Linked DNA regions of Homo sapiens: region 1 is linked to region 2. Evidence: promoter capture Hi-C in human tissues and cell types (Jung and others, 2019). All regions are on one chromosome and are shown on one strand. Each heading gives the region's core, a stretch centred on a gene start or on the middle of the fragment in contact. The rest is flanking DNA. Distances are from core to core; before and after follow the strand shown. Region 1 holds the start of KRT26 (keratin 26). Region 2 holds the start of KRTAP9-4 (keratin associated protein 9-4).

Evidence for each region. Contacts are between HindIII fragments. The study calls those that stand out against the background at their distance.
Region 1: a contact is called between the fragment with the promoter of KRT26 here and the fragment with the promoter of KRTAP9-4 in region 2, in 1 of the 25 tissues and cell types used here (IMR-90 fibroblasts).

The regions. Positions count from the first base shown.
Region 1 is chr17:40,768,269-40,775,261 of GRCh38, reverse strand. It overlaps KRT26 (keratin 26), which reads left to right and starts at 3,061. Exons shown (of 8, transcript NM_181539.5): 1 at 3,061-3,589; 2 at 4,026-4,108; 3 at 4,853-5,009; 4 at 5,140-5,301; 5 at 5,383-5,508; 6 at 6,166-6,383. The coding sequence starts at 3,149. The HindIII fragment of the contact is 6,204 bases long and covers 1-4,026 here.
Region 2 is chr17:41,246,604-41,253,783 of GRCh38, reverse strand. KRTAP9-4 (keratin associated protein 9-4) reads right to left here and starts at 4,097. Exons shown (of 1, transcript NM_033191.3): 1 at 3,131-4,097. The coding sequence starts at 4,063. The coding sequence ends at 3,599. RefSeq lists an enhancer at 3,816-4,370. The HindIII fragment of the contact is 7,447 bases long and covers 1,940-7,180 here.

The DNA.
Region 1 (6,993 bases), core at 1,812-4,311, 480 kb after region 2:
CGCCCGTCTAATTTTTTTGTATTTTCAGTAGAGACGGGGTTTCACCGTGTTAGCCAGGATGGTCTCGATTTCCTGACCTCGTGATCCACCTGCCTCGGCCTCCCAAAGTGCTGGGATTACAGGCGTGAGCCACCGAATACTTAGCTCAGATTTCACAGTATTTGAAACGCCTGACCACCAACTCACCATAACTCAGGAAATAAATTCTTTCTGCTAAAACCAGGCCAATATTTAAAACCTTTAAATATGACTTCCAGGAAAGAGTCAATAATAGTTGATAACCAGCACTTACTAGGTGCTAGACTCTGTTCTAAGCATCATTTATTCCTCACAACAACCCTATGAGGTAGGTACTGTTATCGTCCTCGTTTTACAGATAAGGAAACGGAGGCAGAGACTGGTTGAATAATTTGCCCAAGATCACACAGTAATAACATGAAGTGCTGAAATACGTAAACCACACAGAATAGCTCAGAGTCTGGTGCTTCACCACGACATAATACCATGCTAGTGAGAACTTTATGACTCCACCTTCCCTATAACAAGAGAAGGGATAAAGAAACTACGTGCATGCTCACTCCAGTCGGTCTGAGATTAGCAGAGACATCAGTATCTCCTTCTTCCCAAAACAAACCAGGGAAGCCATTTTGTGGGCGGACTTAGTATACCAGAATCTGATTCTCAGGAAAAAAAAAAACAAAAAACAAAACCAAAAATTAGGAATCTAGTGACAAAACAAACCTCATTCAAGTTCAAGAAAAATGGTTATCTAACATAAATATAGAATGTGAATTTTAAACAACAGTGTACTTGAAACTAAACAATAAATGTATCAGGGGAAAATTAGCATATGATCATTAGAATAAGATAATGTAATGAAAAACTTTATCCTGAAATAAGGAGACAGCAACACTGCATAAAGCTTAATTCGATTCATTTTGAATATCTAAAATACGTATGCACATCATGTAATGTTCTACTATCTAGTAGATTATCAAGAAATGATCTATTATGTACATCCATTCTTGCCATGGATAAAATAATCAATCCCGGGGAAGAAATGTATAGACTGAAGTGGTCCAGAGAATGTGTTAAATCTGTCTCCACTTCCAGAAAGAACTAGAGCATACCTAAATTTTTAAAATAAGTATTAGTTTAGAGGAAAATCTATGATTAAAATAATTTAAAAGACCTACTCACGTGAGTAAATAGGCGACAACATTTCAAGAAGGAGTTAAGCATCATATATTCCAGTCCTGCTTTGATATAGAAATGCTTTGTAATCTGTGTGGCCACTTAGCTTCAGAGACAACTCATCTCCAAAATAGTCCTAATAATATGTGTTTAACTTGTTTCACAAAAGATAATTTGTATTTATAAAGTATCTAGAGATAAATAGATTATGTTAATAATACTTTGAAATCTCATAATAACTCACCTAAGAAACTCAAGCCTTATAAATCATTAAACTGACAATACTCTCTGTTTTTCTTGTTTTATTTCTGGGAAAAATTAGCAAAAGATTAAAAATTTGACCAGGTCACAACAAAATCAGTAAAAAGTCTCTAAACAGGAACTGTATCTAGGTTATCATGCACTGTTCTAAACATAAGCTGATGGTCCAGTTATAGCTCTGTATTTATTATTTATTTTTAAATATTTTTGATTTAGAAAATCCATGCAGTCCACTAAATGTTCCATACGATTTAGTGACAATAATGTTGGATGTTTTCCAAAGGATTCACTATCCACAACATTGAAAAATATCATTCGGAAGAAAATTACTGTTTCAAAACTAAACCCATAATTAGTTAACCAATCAATTTGTATCATTATAGGTGATAGAGACCCGACCCTGTCTGACATGTCCACTTTATTATAATAATTTAAATAATTAACATTTAAAAATGTTTGTGCCTTTCAAACTGTCTTATCGTCATTCATGATTGGAACTGCTCAACATTCATTTGAGACTCTTTGATGCTATTATTTTCATTTGCCCAGTAGGGAAATGATCCAAGCCTGGATAACTTCCCAAGAGCATCAAGGCAAGAGAATAAAGAGTACTTCCCTGTGACAACTTATCTTCTCTCTAGGGTACTATAAGTACTGGTTTTCTAGGTAATGATGAAAACACCTCCCTCCTTATATATTTTACTCCTTGCTAATCAATATGATGCTCACTTCTCAAAATAATTCCTAATGTCTTAAATACATACATTTAAACTAAAAGACAGTAAACACTATTTAGGGGTAGGGAAGTGAACAATTTGGAGACTGTTAGTTGAATTGATGTCCTGCTCCTGGACCAAACCAAGAAATCTCAATCGAATTAATTCTCCACCATCATCACATATTCATGAATTATATTGAAATTAACAATAAGCAGGACTGCAGGATTTCTATTACTTCAGTTTTCAATTCAAGAAATGGTAGATTTCTTTTAAAATCTCCCACTACCAAAAGATCAATAGATGCTGAGATTTTCTGGTTTTGATAAGAAGGAAAACACACACCCAGACACCCAGGGCAGTGGCTCACACCTGTAATGCTGGCCACAGGAGGCTGAGCTGGGTGCTGAGGCTGAGGATCACTGGAGGCCAGGAGTTCGAGACCAGCCTGGGAAACATAGCGAGACCACATATCTTTAAAAAAAGGAAAAAAGAAAAAGAAACGAAAGGAAGAAAGGAAGCACTCAATGAAGTGGGAATACTAGAAATACTCTATGAGCGTTAACAGGACAAAAGTAGGAGACATTTCTCATTGGAATTATTAATTCTTTGTTATATGTGGCAGGGGGAGAATCTAGATTCTATTAATATTCCAGTGGCCAAAAAGATGCACATTTAGTCATATTTAATTTTGGCCTTTGAGGCTATGATTTAGTTTTACTTCACCTGGCACCATTTTTATATATAAAAAATATCCTTGGGGCACCTTTCCACCTACAGACTGGACGCTGTTAAAAATTACCCAATTGTGAAAAACAACAATTAGGATGCAAGTAAATTTTATTACAGACTGGCATAGTCAAGACTGAAATGACCCAGTGAATACTATAAAAGGCCAAGGGAGCTAACAAGTGTGGAAGGTGAACCCTGGCTTTGCTCCTCTTTCTGGGAAGGGGTTGCCCGGCTGTGCTGCCACCATGTCTTTTCGACTTTCTGGTGGATCCAGGAGGATCTGCTCGCGAACTGGGTCTGGTAGGCTGTCCGGTGGAGGAACAGGCTTCGTGGCTGGGAATGTGTGTGTTGGATCGGGAGCAAGAAGCAGCTTTTCTTGTACTCTTGAGGGCATCTCTTCTGGAGGAAGCTTCTGCAATAGCGGTGGAGGGTTGGGAAGTGGTGCCTGTGCTGGTTTTCTTGGCAATGAGCACAGCCTCCTCTCTGGGAATGAAAAGGTGACCATGCAGAATCTCAACGACCGCCTGGCATCCTACCTGGACCATGTGCATGCTCTAGAGGAGGCCAACGCAGACCTGGAGCAGAAGATCAAGGGCTGGTACGAGAAATGTGAGCCTGGCTCTTCCCGGGAACACGATCATGACTATAGCAGATACTTCTCAGTCATAGAAGATCTTAAAAGGCAGGTAAGAAATAGGGATTTGCATACTTTTACTACAGACTTTGTGTGTTGATAATTTAAAGAAGAGAAAATATAAAATGTGCCTAACAAATTTATGTGATGTAAGATTTGTTCACTCTGTATTTCCAGTGCTAAGCACAGTACCTGGCAATAAAATCTTGTAGAATTAAATAATGAAAAAGAAATCATTTCAAAACAGATATAGTCACTTCGTTTTTCATATATTTAGCTCATACCATTTGATCAAAAGTAGTAAAAGTATCTATGTGGCTCTTAAGCTCTGGATGCTTATTATCTGAAGAAAATCCAGATTTCTTTAACATAGAAAAAAGATACTAAAACAGATGTTTGACAGATTAAGAAGATATAAAATCACACTGAAGTCTGGAGCCTCCTTTGACTTTTGGTAATTAACATTTTTCACAATCTTCCCTATTTAGATTATTTCTGCGACCATCTGCAATGCCAGCATTGTTCTACAAAATGACAATGCCAGACTGACCGCTGATGACTTCAGGCTGAAGTAGGTGAAAACAAACTGATTAATTATATTAATAAAAGTTAAAATATTACAATTGGATTAAGGAATATATATTTTGCTTTGAAAACCAAAATGTTTTTCTAAAGCCAGACTAGATCAATAAAGAAATTGAATTAAATAAGCCGTTATAAAAAGAGCTATCATGGTTGGATAGAGTAGCTCATGCCTGTAATCCCAGCACCTTGGGAGGCTGAGGCAGGCAGATCACTTGAGGTCAGGAGTTTGAGACCAGCCTGGCCAATGTGGCAAGACCCCGTCTCTACTAAAAGTACACACACAAAAAAATAGTCAGGCATGGTGGCTCACTCCTGTAATCCCAGCTACTTGGGAGGCTGAGACATGAGAATCACTTGAACCCGGAAGGTGGAGGTTGCAGTGAGCTGAGATGGGGCCACTGCACTTCAGTCTGGGTGACAGAGTGAGACTGTCTCAAAAACAAACAACAAAAAAGAGCAATCACATATTTTTTAAAATCTAAAATCTAGCAATATTTTATTTAATTGTTAAGCACATTGGATGACAAAAATCAGCTCTGAAGAAATAACATCCCCAAAATACAATTCATGAATTGTTAGGTATCTCAAACCATTTTAGCAGTTTGCCATTGCAAGAAGCTTCAGAGGTATGTACAGAACATCATATCTTTCAGCATATGAAATACCTTAAAAAGTTGTGCTTTGCACCTGCCTACGATGACAACTCTCAGGTGCCTTACTAATCTTTCAGGTATGAAAATGAGCTGGCTCTGCACCACAGTGTTGAGGCCGACACCAGTGGTCTTCGCAGAGTGTTGGATGAACTGACCCTTTGTACAACCGACCTGGAGATACAGTGTGAGACCCTCAGTGAGGAATTGACCTACCTCAAAAAAAGTCATGAGGAGGTAAGGAAGCCTGCAGAGTGGCTTCATACAGTTTCTAATTTCCTTCTTGAAGTCCACTGTTCATTTCGTAGCAGGGCATGAACATCAATCAAAATCCTCCACTGAGGATGAATACCGATCCCTTTTCTAGGAAATGGAAGTCTTGCAATATACAGCTGGGGGGAACGTGAACGTGGAGATGAATGCAACCCCAGGAGTGGACCTAACTGTCCTGTTGAACAACATGAGGGCTGAGTATGAGGACTTGGCTGAGCAGAACCGCAAAGATGCTGAAGCCTGGTTCAACGAGAGGGTAGGTCTATGGCAAATTACAAAGGGCTTGCTCAGGAGACAATCAGGCCAGTCACTAACCCTTTCGACAATTACACTTCAGAGTGCAACGCTGCAACAACAGATTTCCGATCATGAGGGAGCAGCCACAGCAGCCAGAAATGAGCTGACCGAATTAAAACGCAATCTGCAAACCCTGGAAATAGAACTTCAGTCCCTCATGGCTGTGGTACGTAGGAATCGCCATTGAATTGAATATATGTGTGAATATGTATAAGTCAATACAGATATAAAAATACATATAACACCAAGTACGTATAACCATTTACATATGACTAAAAGTATAAAATATATTAAATATCAAGAATTCTGTCCCTAAACTCACCAATTCCAAAACTTGAAAAATGCCTTTTTACAATAGAGGAATTTTTTTAAATCTTGCAAATGTTGATTTTCAATTGAAAATATTCAGACCTTATACAAATAATTATTTCTACCTTGAGAATATTTAAAATATGACCATGCCGGCCAAGCACAGTGGCTCACACCTGTAATCCCAGCACTTTGGGAGGCCACGGCAGGTGGATAACTTGAGGTCAGAAATTCAAGACCAGCCAGGCCAACATGGTGAAACCCCATCTCTACTAAAAATATAAAAATTAGCTGGGTGTGGTGGCATGTACCTGTAATCCCACATACTCAGGAGGCTGAGGCAGGAGAATCACTTGAACACAGGAAGAGAGGCTGCAGTGAGCCAAGATCATGCCACTGCACTCAGCCTGGGTGACAGAGCAAGACACAGTCTCAAAAAAATAAATAAAATAATATAAGATGACCATGCCATTTCTCTTTTACACATTCAAGCTTCACTTTGCTTTTCTTTCAGAAACATTCCTATGAATGCTCCTTGGCTGAGACTGAAGGAAATTACTGCAATCAACTCCAGCAAATTCAGGATCAGATAGGGGTGATGGAGGAACAACTGCAACAGATTCGAACAGAAACAGAAGGCCAGAAGCTGGAGTATGAACAGCTTCTTGATGTAAAAATATTTTTAGAAAAAGAAATTGACATTTATTGCAACTTACTAGATGGAGAAGAAAGGTAAAGATTAACTTGCAAAAAAAAAAAAAAACCTCACATTAACTAGGTTTTCCCACAGTATAGGTATGCCAATATTGCATCCTAGAATTTCCTACTCTGGAGATCATACATATTTATCCTCAGGAATGTATATTATTGCAGCCAAGTGAAATTAAAACATGCAGAAATTTGAAAATCAAATTTCTAAGTATGCAAAATATTTGTATGTATAATATATAAAGGACATTTAAATATAGAATATTTAACAATTCCAGTACTCCAATTCAAGGGGAAAATTGCTTTCTGTGATTTAGTGTGTAAGCACATTTCTTATAAATAACTCATTCTCTTTTCTTATCACTTCACTAGTTACCCCACATGTACCTTGTATTAAAGATGAGCAATGAAGATATAGGAAGAATTAATTGGAGAGGCACCATAGTTTCTTAGTCAATAGCAACAGCCCTGGAATTGCAGCCCTGGCTGTGAATCAAATACTGGGTGAATTATGAGCACATTGTTTAACCTTTTCAAATGCAGTTTCCTCGTTGATGAAATTGTGATAAAGCCAAAACCATACTTGTAACAAGTCTTAACTATAATGTCTCACTACATAGGTAAAGAGCTCATG
Region 2 (7,180 bases), core at 2,848-5,347:
AGCTCAGGTGATTTACTGAGTATATTAACTTACTAGCAGTGCCATGGTAAATTACTGCAAACCAAGTGGCTTAAATTTATTTTTTCACAGTTCCAAAGGCCTCTAGTCTGGAATTAAGCTGTTGGCAATGTTGTTTTCATCTGAAGCCTGCGAGGGAAGTATCTGTTCCAGGTCTCTCTCCTTGACTTGTAGATGTCTATCATTTCCATGTGTGTTTGACATAAGTTTTCTACTATATGCATACTGTCTCTGAATTTCCCCCTTGTGTATAGATATCAGTCATATTTAATCAGAAGCCTAATTGTTTCCAATATGACCTTTTCTTATCACATAACATTTTAAATGATTCTATTTGAACATGAATTTTGGAGGACACAAATTAACCCATAACACTGCAGAATCTCATAGTGTGTCCATGCCCAGTGATAACCACAAAACAGTAAAAACAGTAATCACAGCGGACAGTGGTATAGTAACCAGGGGCTCAGACCCTTCAGGAAGGATGCTCTGAGCTACTCCCTCAGGCAGTTATCTAGACAAACAAGAGTGCTGGCCAGGGGTGAAGGGAGAATAGGACTGGTGGTAATTAATGGAGCTTATGAATCTCAGGTGCACTGTATTATAGCAGCAGTAAGTGTAGCTTATTTCATTGGCCTTCATTTTATATCTCACTTCCTCCCCCAGCTTTTCGTTTCCTTCTTCATTTTTCTTTCTTTCTTTTTCTTCAATCACCCCTTCTCCTTCCTTCCTTCATGTTTTTTTTTGGTTCCTTTATCCCTTCCCTTCCCTTTCCTTTTCCTTCCTTTCTTCCTCCCTTCTCTTTTTCTTTTTTGTTTCTTTTCTCTTTCCTCCTCTCATCTTCTGTTCCTTCTCTTCCTCTCCTCTGCTTCTTCCTTCTTTTAGAGCTTGTGGCTCTCCATCACATTTAAACAGCAAAGATTTGACTTGAGTGGAGCTAATTGTAGATCTCAGACAAGTTTTCGTAAGTGCGCCCATATATCTTGCATGTTAGTGTGCTTGGATTAATTTCCATCTGTCAGAGTCCGCATCTCTGTGGCCAAGGGCTCTTGTATTGCAGCTGTAGAAAGTCATGCCACCTGTGAATGCAACACAGAGAAAAACACTCAACCAATGATTCTGGAGAGCTGATTTATAAAGACTCTAGCTTCCTCATTCCTGAAGTAGGATAATTCTAGCTGTGTGTTTTTCATCATTTCTGATAGTTTTCCCTTTAGTTTAAGCTTTAGTTGGTGACTGTGATACTGACTTTATAGTGTACCCTTTTCTGTATCACTTCCCCAATTCCTACCGGTGTGATCTGCACTTCCCAGTAAACTAGTTTCACTGGAATCTTTTCTTCAAAGTCTTTTCGGGAGAAACTAATCTATGACATTATGTTAACTCCCTCAGCCTCAATTTTCTTATCTCTACGCTGGGAATATTAATACCTATTCTGAAAGTTTGTTAAAGAGTTAATAATAATGTACACAAAGTGTTTAGCAAATACCCATCCTATAGCAGGCAATCCAGAACATATTAGTGTTTCTTGTTCAGAAAATTACCAATTTTAATGTTGAAGATAGGAATATTTTTGTAATAATTAACTAGATCAACTAAATACTTTTTTTCCTAGCTGTATTGAGGTATAATTGACAAATAAAAGTTGTATCTATTTCAGGTATACAAGGTGATGTTCTGATATATATATTCCTTGTGAATAATATGTTTATTAGGTCACGAAGCTACCATTTCCTTTTAATTTTTGTGGTGTGAACATTTAAGATCTACCTTCTTGGTAAATTTCAGGTATATGATAAAGTGTTATTAACTATAGTCACATTACTGTACAGTAGACATGCTGAACTTATTCATCTTTCATAAATGATGCTAGTCAAAGAGAATGTCCTAGTTTTCATCTCCTTTACTTCAACCCTGAACGATGATCACAGTAAGTGGCCGTTGTCTCTTAGCCAAGTCTTCAGAGCATTCTAGATTCACAGTCTCAGAAGTTGGCATCTGTCATGGAAATCTACATTTTTAGCTGATCAGAGGTAATTCTAGCACTCCAGTGCTGGTAGGAGGTCCGAAGAAGGTGACCCAGGTCCCCAACTTTTATATTTCTCTCAGAGCCTGTATCAATCAATCTTTCCATGGGTGAATGCTTAGCTTACATCGGTTCAGGACCCAAAGCACTAACCTCTGTCTATTATGACTTCTATGAATGCACAAGTTCTACTTTGCTCCTTTCTTACATTCTTCTGATTTCCCTGGAAACACAAGTTTTTCATTTCTTTGAATGCTTCCTATTGGCCTCACAAAATGCAGAAGGCTGTTTCATTCCCTTACTTGGCTCAGAGATTATGGATTGTGCCAAGTCTTACATGCCCATTGTGTAGTTTCTCAATTCTCAGCTTTGTTCTTACATAATTTCCCTCATAACATTACAATTAGGGGACAAATTGTCTTAATGTGGCAAAATGTATGGTCTGCATTTTACAAGAAATAACTTAGTTTCATTTACTTCATCAATAGGTATTCAGGAGATGAAGGCTGTATAAGTATTTTATTTACATGATATTGACAACAAGTTTCTTCAGATGAGACTCTCTCTCATGAGTCCACAATAAATTCCCAAGCTTTTTTTGATGTAGATGAATTGAATGAGTGGCTGGTCAGAGGCTGAGACAAAAAGAGCTCCCTGCATTCAGGGCAGCCATTAAATGCAGTCCCTGCTGCCATATCACGCAGCTGTTTCTCACTGAGGTGTGGGAAATTGGGAATTTTTTGTAAACAAAAACGTTATCTGCAAATATAAGAGATTATTTGTCCTATTGTTAAAAAAACTCAAGTATATGACTTGCTAATACTTACTTCCAATGTCATTTCTACTATATTGAGAGTTAAATGTAAGTGTCCTTGGGCAGAAAGAGAGGACCTCAGCTTGGACAAGAGTCTGCCCTTTACTAGCTACATAACATCACACATTAAATTGTTCTCAGCTGAAAAAATGGAGGTAATAACACACGACCATCTGTTTTGAGAATCAAATTGGATAATACCTATGGTATGTGATATGTGTGTAAATCTCATATCAGGAATGCTTTCATATAAAACAAAACACCATATGAGATGAGGATGGTTCAGAGTTTATTCAGAAACATATAGCTAAGAATCTCTGCTGGTAGCAGAAACATAACCCAAAGTTATGAAAAGAAGAAAGAAGGATACAAGAACCATGAGGAGGATATTGAAAACAAAAATATGATTGCAAAGATTATTGATCAGTTGCAGAAACCTAAATTCCTTAGAAGCAGAGAATGAAGCTCTTGACTTTTGAGTCAAAGCTGAGACCATGACTCAAAATTGAGAACACACGAAGCTGGCACATGATCCACAAAGTGTAAGGAAAAAGAGAATCAGGATGAAGTATTCTGCCCTCCCTCAAGTAGATTCCCAAGATTTTAAACAGGTAGAGAATTCATAAAAATTTGGGTGAGAGCATGGTGGCTGTCAGCAGCAAATTAAATTAGTCCCCCAAAAGATAAGTCAGTTGAGCAGAAAGTTGTTGTGTGAGGATGGTGGTTCTCTTGGGACTTGATCAGCAGCAAAAAGGCTGACAGCAGCTGGACACACAGGTGGGCTGGAAGCAAGTGGTCTCACAGCAGGCTGGGCGGCAGCAGGGCTGGCAGCAGTTGGAGCCACAGCTCTGGTTTAGGCAACCAGGCAGGCAGACAGTTGTGGGGTAGTAGCAGGTTCTTCTGCAGTACACAGGTGCACAGGAGCTGCTCTGGTCACAGCTGGACCCACAGCAGGTGGGCTGGCAGCAGGGTGTGCTGCAGCAGGAAGGCTGGCAGCAGCTGGTCACACAGGTGGGCTGGCAGCAGGTGTTTTGACAGCAAGTTGGGCGGCAGCAAGGCTGGCAGCAGCTGGAAACACAGCAGGAGGGCTGGCAGCAGGGTGTGCTGCTGCAGGTGGTCACAGTGGTGGGCTTCCAGCAGGTGGTCCTGCAGCAGGTGGTCCTGCAGCATGTAGGCTGACAGCAAGGGGAGCAACAGTGGGTCATGGTGTCAGGGGTAGAGGGTGGGCTTCTGTTCAGAGGTGAGTTTCCCAGAATCTGATGACCCCTTGCAATCTGGACCTTTTATACACCTGGCCTCCAAAGTTTCCACCAATCAGCAGGACTTTTCCTTGTTTCCGTTTACATTGTTTTCCCAGTCCGTTTGTGATTCTCAAAGGGTAGTTGTTTCCTTAAGGTTAAACAGATTAAGGTTTAATCTGTTTCTTAATTGTGAATTACTCATAGACACTTTGTTTCAGATAAAAGGAAGGCAATCTCATCATCAGCATCATTCCTGTTCTGACCATCATCTGGTCATGTGATAGTTCCTGTTGATCTGGGAGGCTCAGGAAGTTCTCTCTGGCCAGCCTCATGTTTGGCTGTATGTAGACTGGGAAGTGTCTGTGGGGAGAAGCATGATGCTGATATATTTACAGTGACAAAATGAATCCATGCCTGGGCCCAAGACTAGTCACCCACCAAATTCTGACTCAAGACTAGCAGGCATCTCTCTGTGCAACCCACACCACCTGTCTTTCAGTTCTTTGAACATCACTTGGGAAGAGGGTGTTTGTCACAGTGTGTTCCATGTGGCAGAGCAGATCGAGAGCAGGTGGATGCAGATAAATCCACTGGGATTTAGACAGCATCAAGTAATCTATGCCCTGAGTGACCATTCATTCTGACTTGTCTGTGAGCGTGGCGATTCCAGAATGAGAATGTAGGACTCTCTATGGCATAAATGCTTGAGATTCAGGCCAACCAGCATGTGCTGTGGCTCTAGTCGCAACCCGGTTACTAGCACAGTAAGCAGCATGTCTTCTCTCTCTCTCTCTATTTCTTTTTAATGAAGGAATTAGATGAGTTGAGATGATGCCTGATTCATCATGGAGTTCTAACATGTTTAAAACATTTTCTAGGTATACCATTCATTTGAGAAGAATGCAAATTATTAATTTTCAACTTGATATAGTATTATATTGTAAATACATCTGTGTCCCCATTACATCTATGTTAGGAAATAGAAATTAATTCCATTCTCTCCCAATTATATGCTCTTACTCATTCCCAAAGACAGCTAATCACTCTATCAGTTGTAATCCTGTAGGTAATTTTTGGTTTTTTAAAGTTTTCATGTGAATAAAAAGTATAGTATTTGCTTCTCTATTTCTTTGGCATAAACAAAAGTAATCTTTATCGCCTAGTCATTTTGGACTCTTCATATAAGCAAAGCAGCAGACAGAGAAAGTAGTTACTATTTGGTGAGGGATAATTACCCTCAAGCCATATAGTGTAGCAGAATATATCTATAGCTCAGGAGATTTACTGAGTATATTAATTTACTAGCACTGCCCTGATGAATTACTGAAAAAAAGTGGCTTAAATTTATTTATCAAAGTTCTGAAGGCCTCTTTTCTGAAATTAAGGTGTTGGCAATGTTGTTTTCATCTGAAGACTGCGAGGGAAGTATCTGTTCCACGTCTCTCTCCCTGACGTGTCAAAGTCTATCATCTCCAAGTGTGTTTGACATAATTTTTCTATTATATCCATACTGTCTCTGAATTTCTCCCTTGTGAATAGACACAGTCATATTTAATCAGAGGCCTAATTGTTTCCAATATGACCTTGTCTTATCAGATAACACTTTAGATGATTCTATTTGAATATGAATTTTGAGGGACGCAAATGAACCCATAACACTGCAGAATCTCACAGTGTGTCCATGCCTAGTGATAACCACAAATGAGTAAAAACAACAATCACGGTGGACAATGGTATAGTAACCAGGGGCTCAGACCCTTCAGGAAGGATGCTCTGAGCTACTCTATCAGCAGTTATCTAGACCAACAAGAGTGCTGGCCAGGGGTGAAGGGAGAATAGAACTCTTGGTAATTAACGGAGTTTATGAAACTTAGGTGCACTGTATTATAGCAGAAGTAAGTGTAGATTATTTAATTGGCCTTCGTTTTATATCTCACTTCCTCTCCTTTCTTTTCCTTTCCTTCCTCTTTCTTCTTTCTTTCTTTCTTTCTTTTCTTTCTTTCTTTTCCTTCCTTCCTTCCTTTTTTCCTCCCTTCCTCCCTCCCTTCCCTTCCCTTCTCTCTCCCTTTCTCTCTCTTTCTTTCTTTCTCTTTCTTTCTTTCTTTTTATCTTTCTTTCTTTCTTTTTTCCTTCCTTCCTTCCTTCCCCTCCCTCAGTTCCTCCCCGCTCCCTCCTTTCCCTCCCTCCCTCCTTCCTGTCCTTCCTTCCTTCCTTCTTTCCTTCCTTCCTTCTCTCTGTCTTTCTGTTTTTCTTTCCTTCTTTTCTCTTTCCTTCTCCTCTCATCTTCTGTCCCTTCTCTTCCTCTGCTTCCTCTCTTCCTCTTCTTCCTTCTCCTAGAGGTTGTGGCTGCCCATCCTATTTAAGTAGCAAATATTTGACTTGAGTGGAGCTAATTGTAGATTGTAGACAAGTTTTCATGACTGCACCCATATATCTTGGATGTTACTGTGCTTGGATCAATTTCCATCTGTCAAAATCTGCATCTCTGTGCCTAAGGGCTCTTGTATTGCAGCTGTAGAAAGTCATGCCACCTGTGAATGCAACACAGAGAAAAACACTCAACCAATGATTCTGGAGAGCTGATTTATAAAGACTTTAGCTTCCTCATTCCTGAAGTAGGGTAATTCTAGCTGTGTGTTTTTCATCATTTCTGATAGTTTTCCCTTTAGTTTAAGCTTTAGTTGGTGACTGTGATACTGACTTAATAGTGTGCCTTCTTCTGTATCACTTCCCCAGTCCCTACCGGTGTGATCTGCACTTCTCAGTAAACTAGTTTCCCTGGAATATTTTCTTCAAAGTCTCTTCTGGGAGAAACTAATCTATGACAATACGTTAACTCTCTCAGCCTCAAATTTCTCATCTCTACAAGGGGAACATTAATACCTATTTTGAAAGTTTGTTAAATAGTTAATAATAATGTACACAAAGCATTTATCCAGTACCCATCATAGAGCAGGCAACACAGAATTAGTGTTTTTTGTTCAGAAAATTCCCAAGTTTTATGTTGAAGATAAGAATATTTTTGTAATAATTAAATAGATCAACTAAATACGTTTTTTTCTAGCTGTATTGAGGTATAAT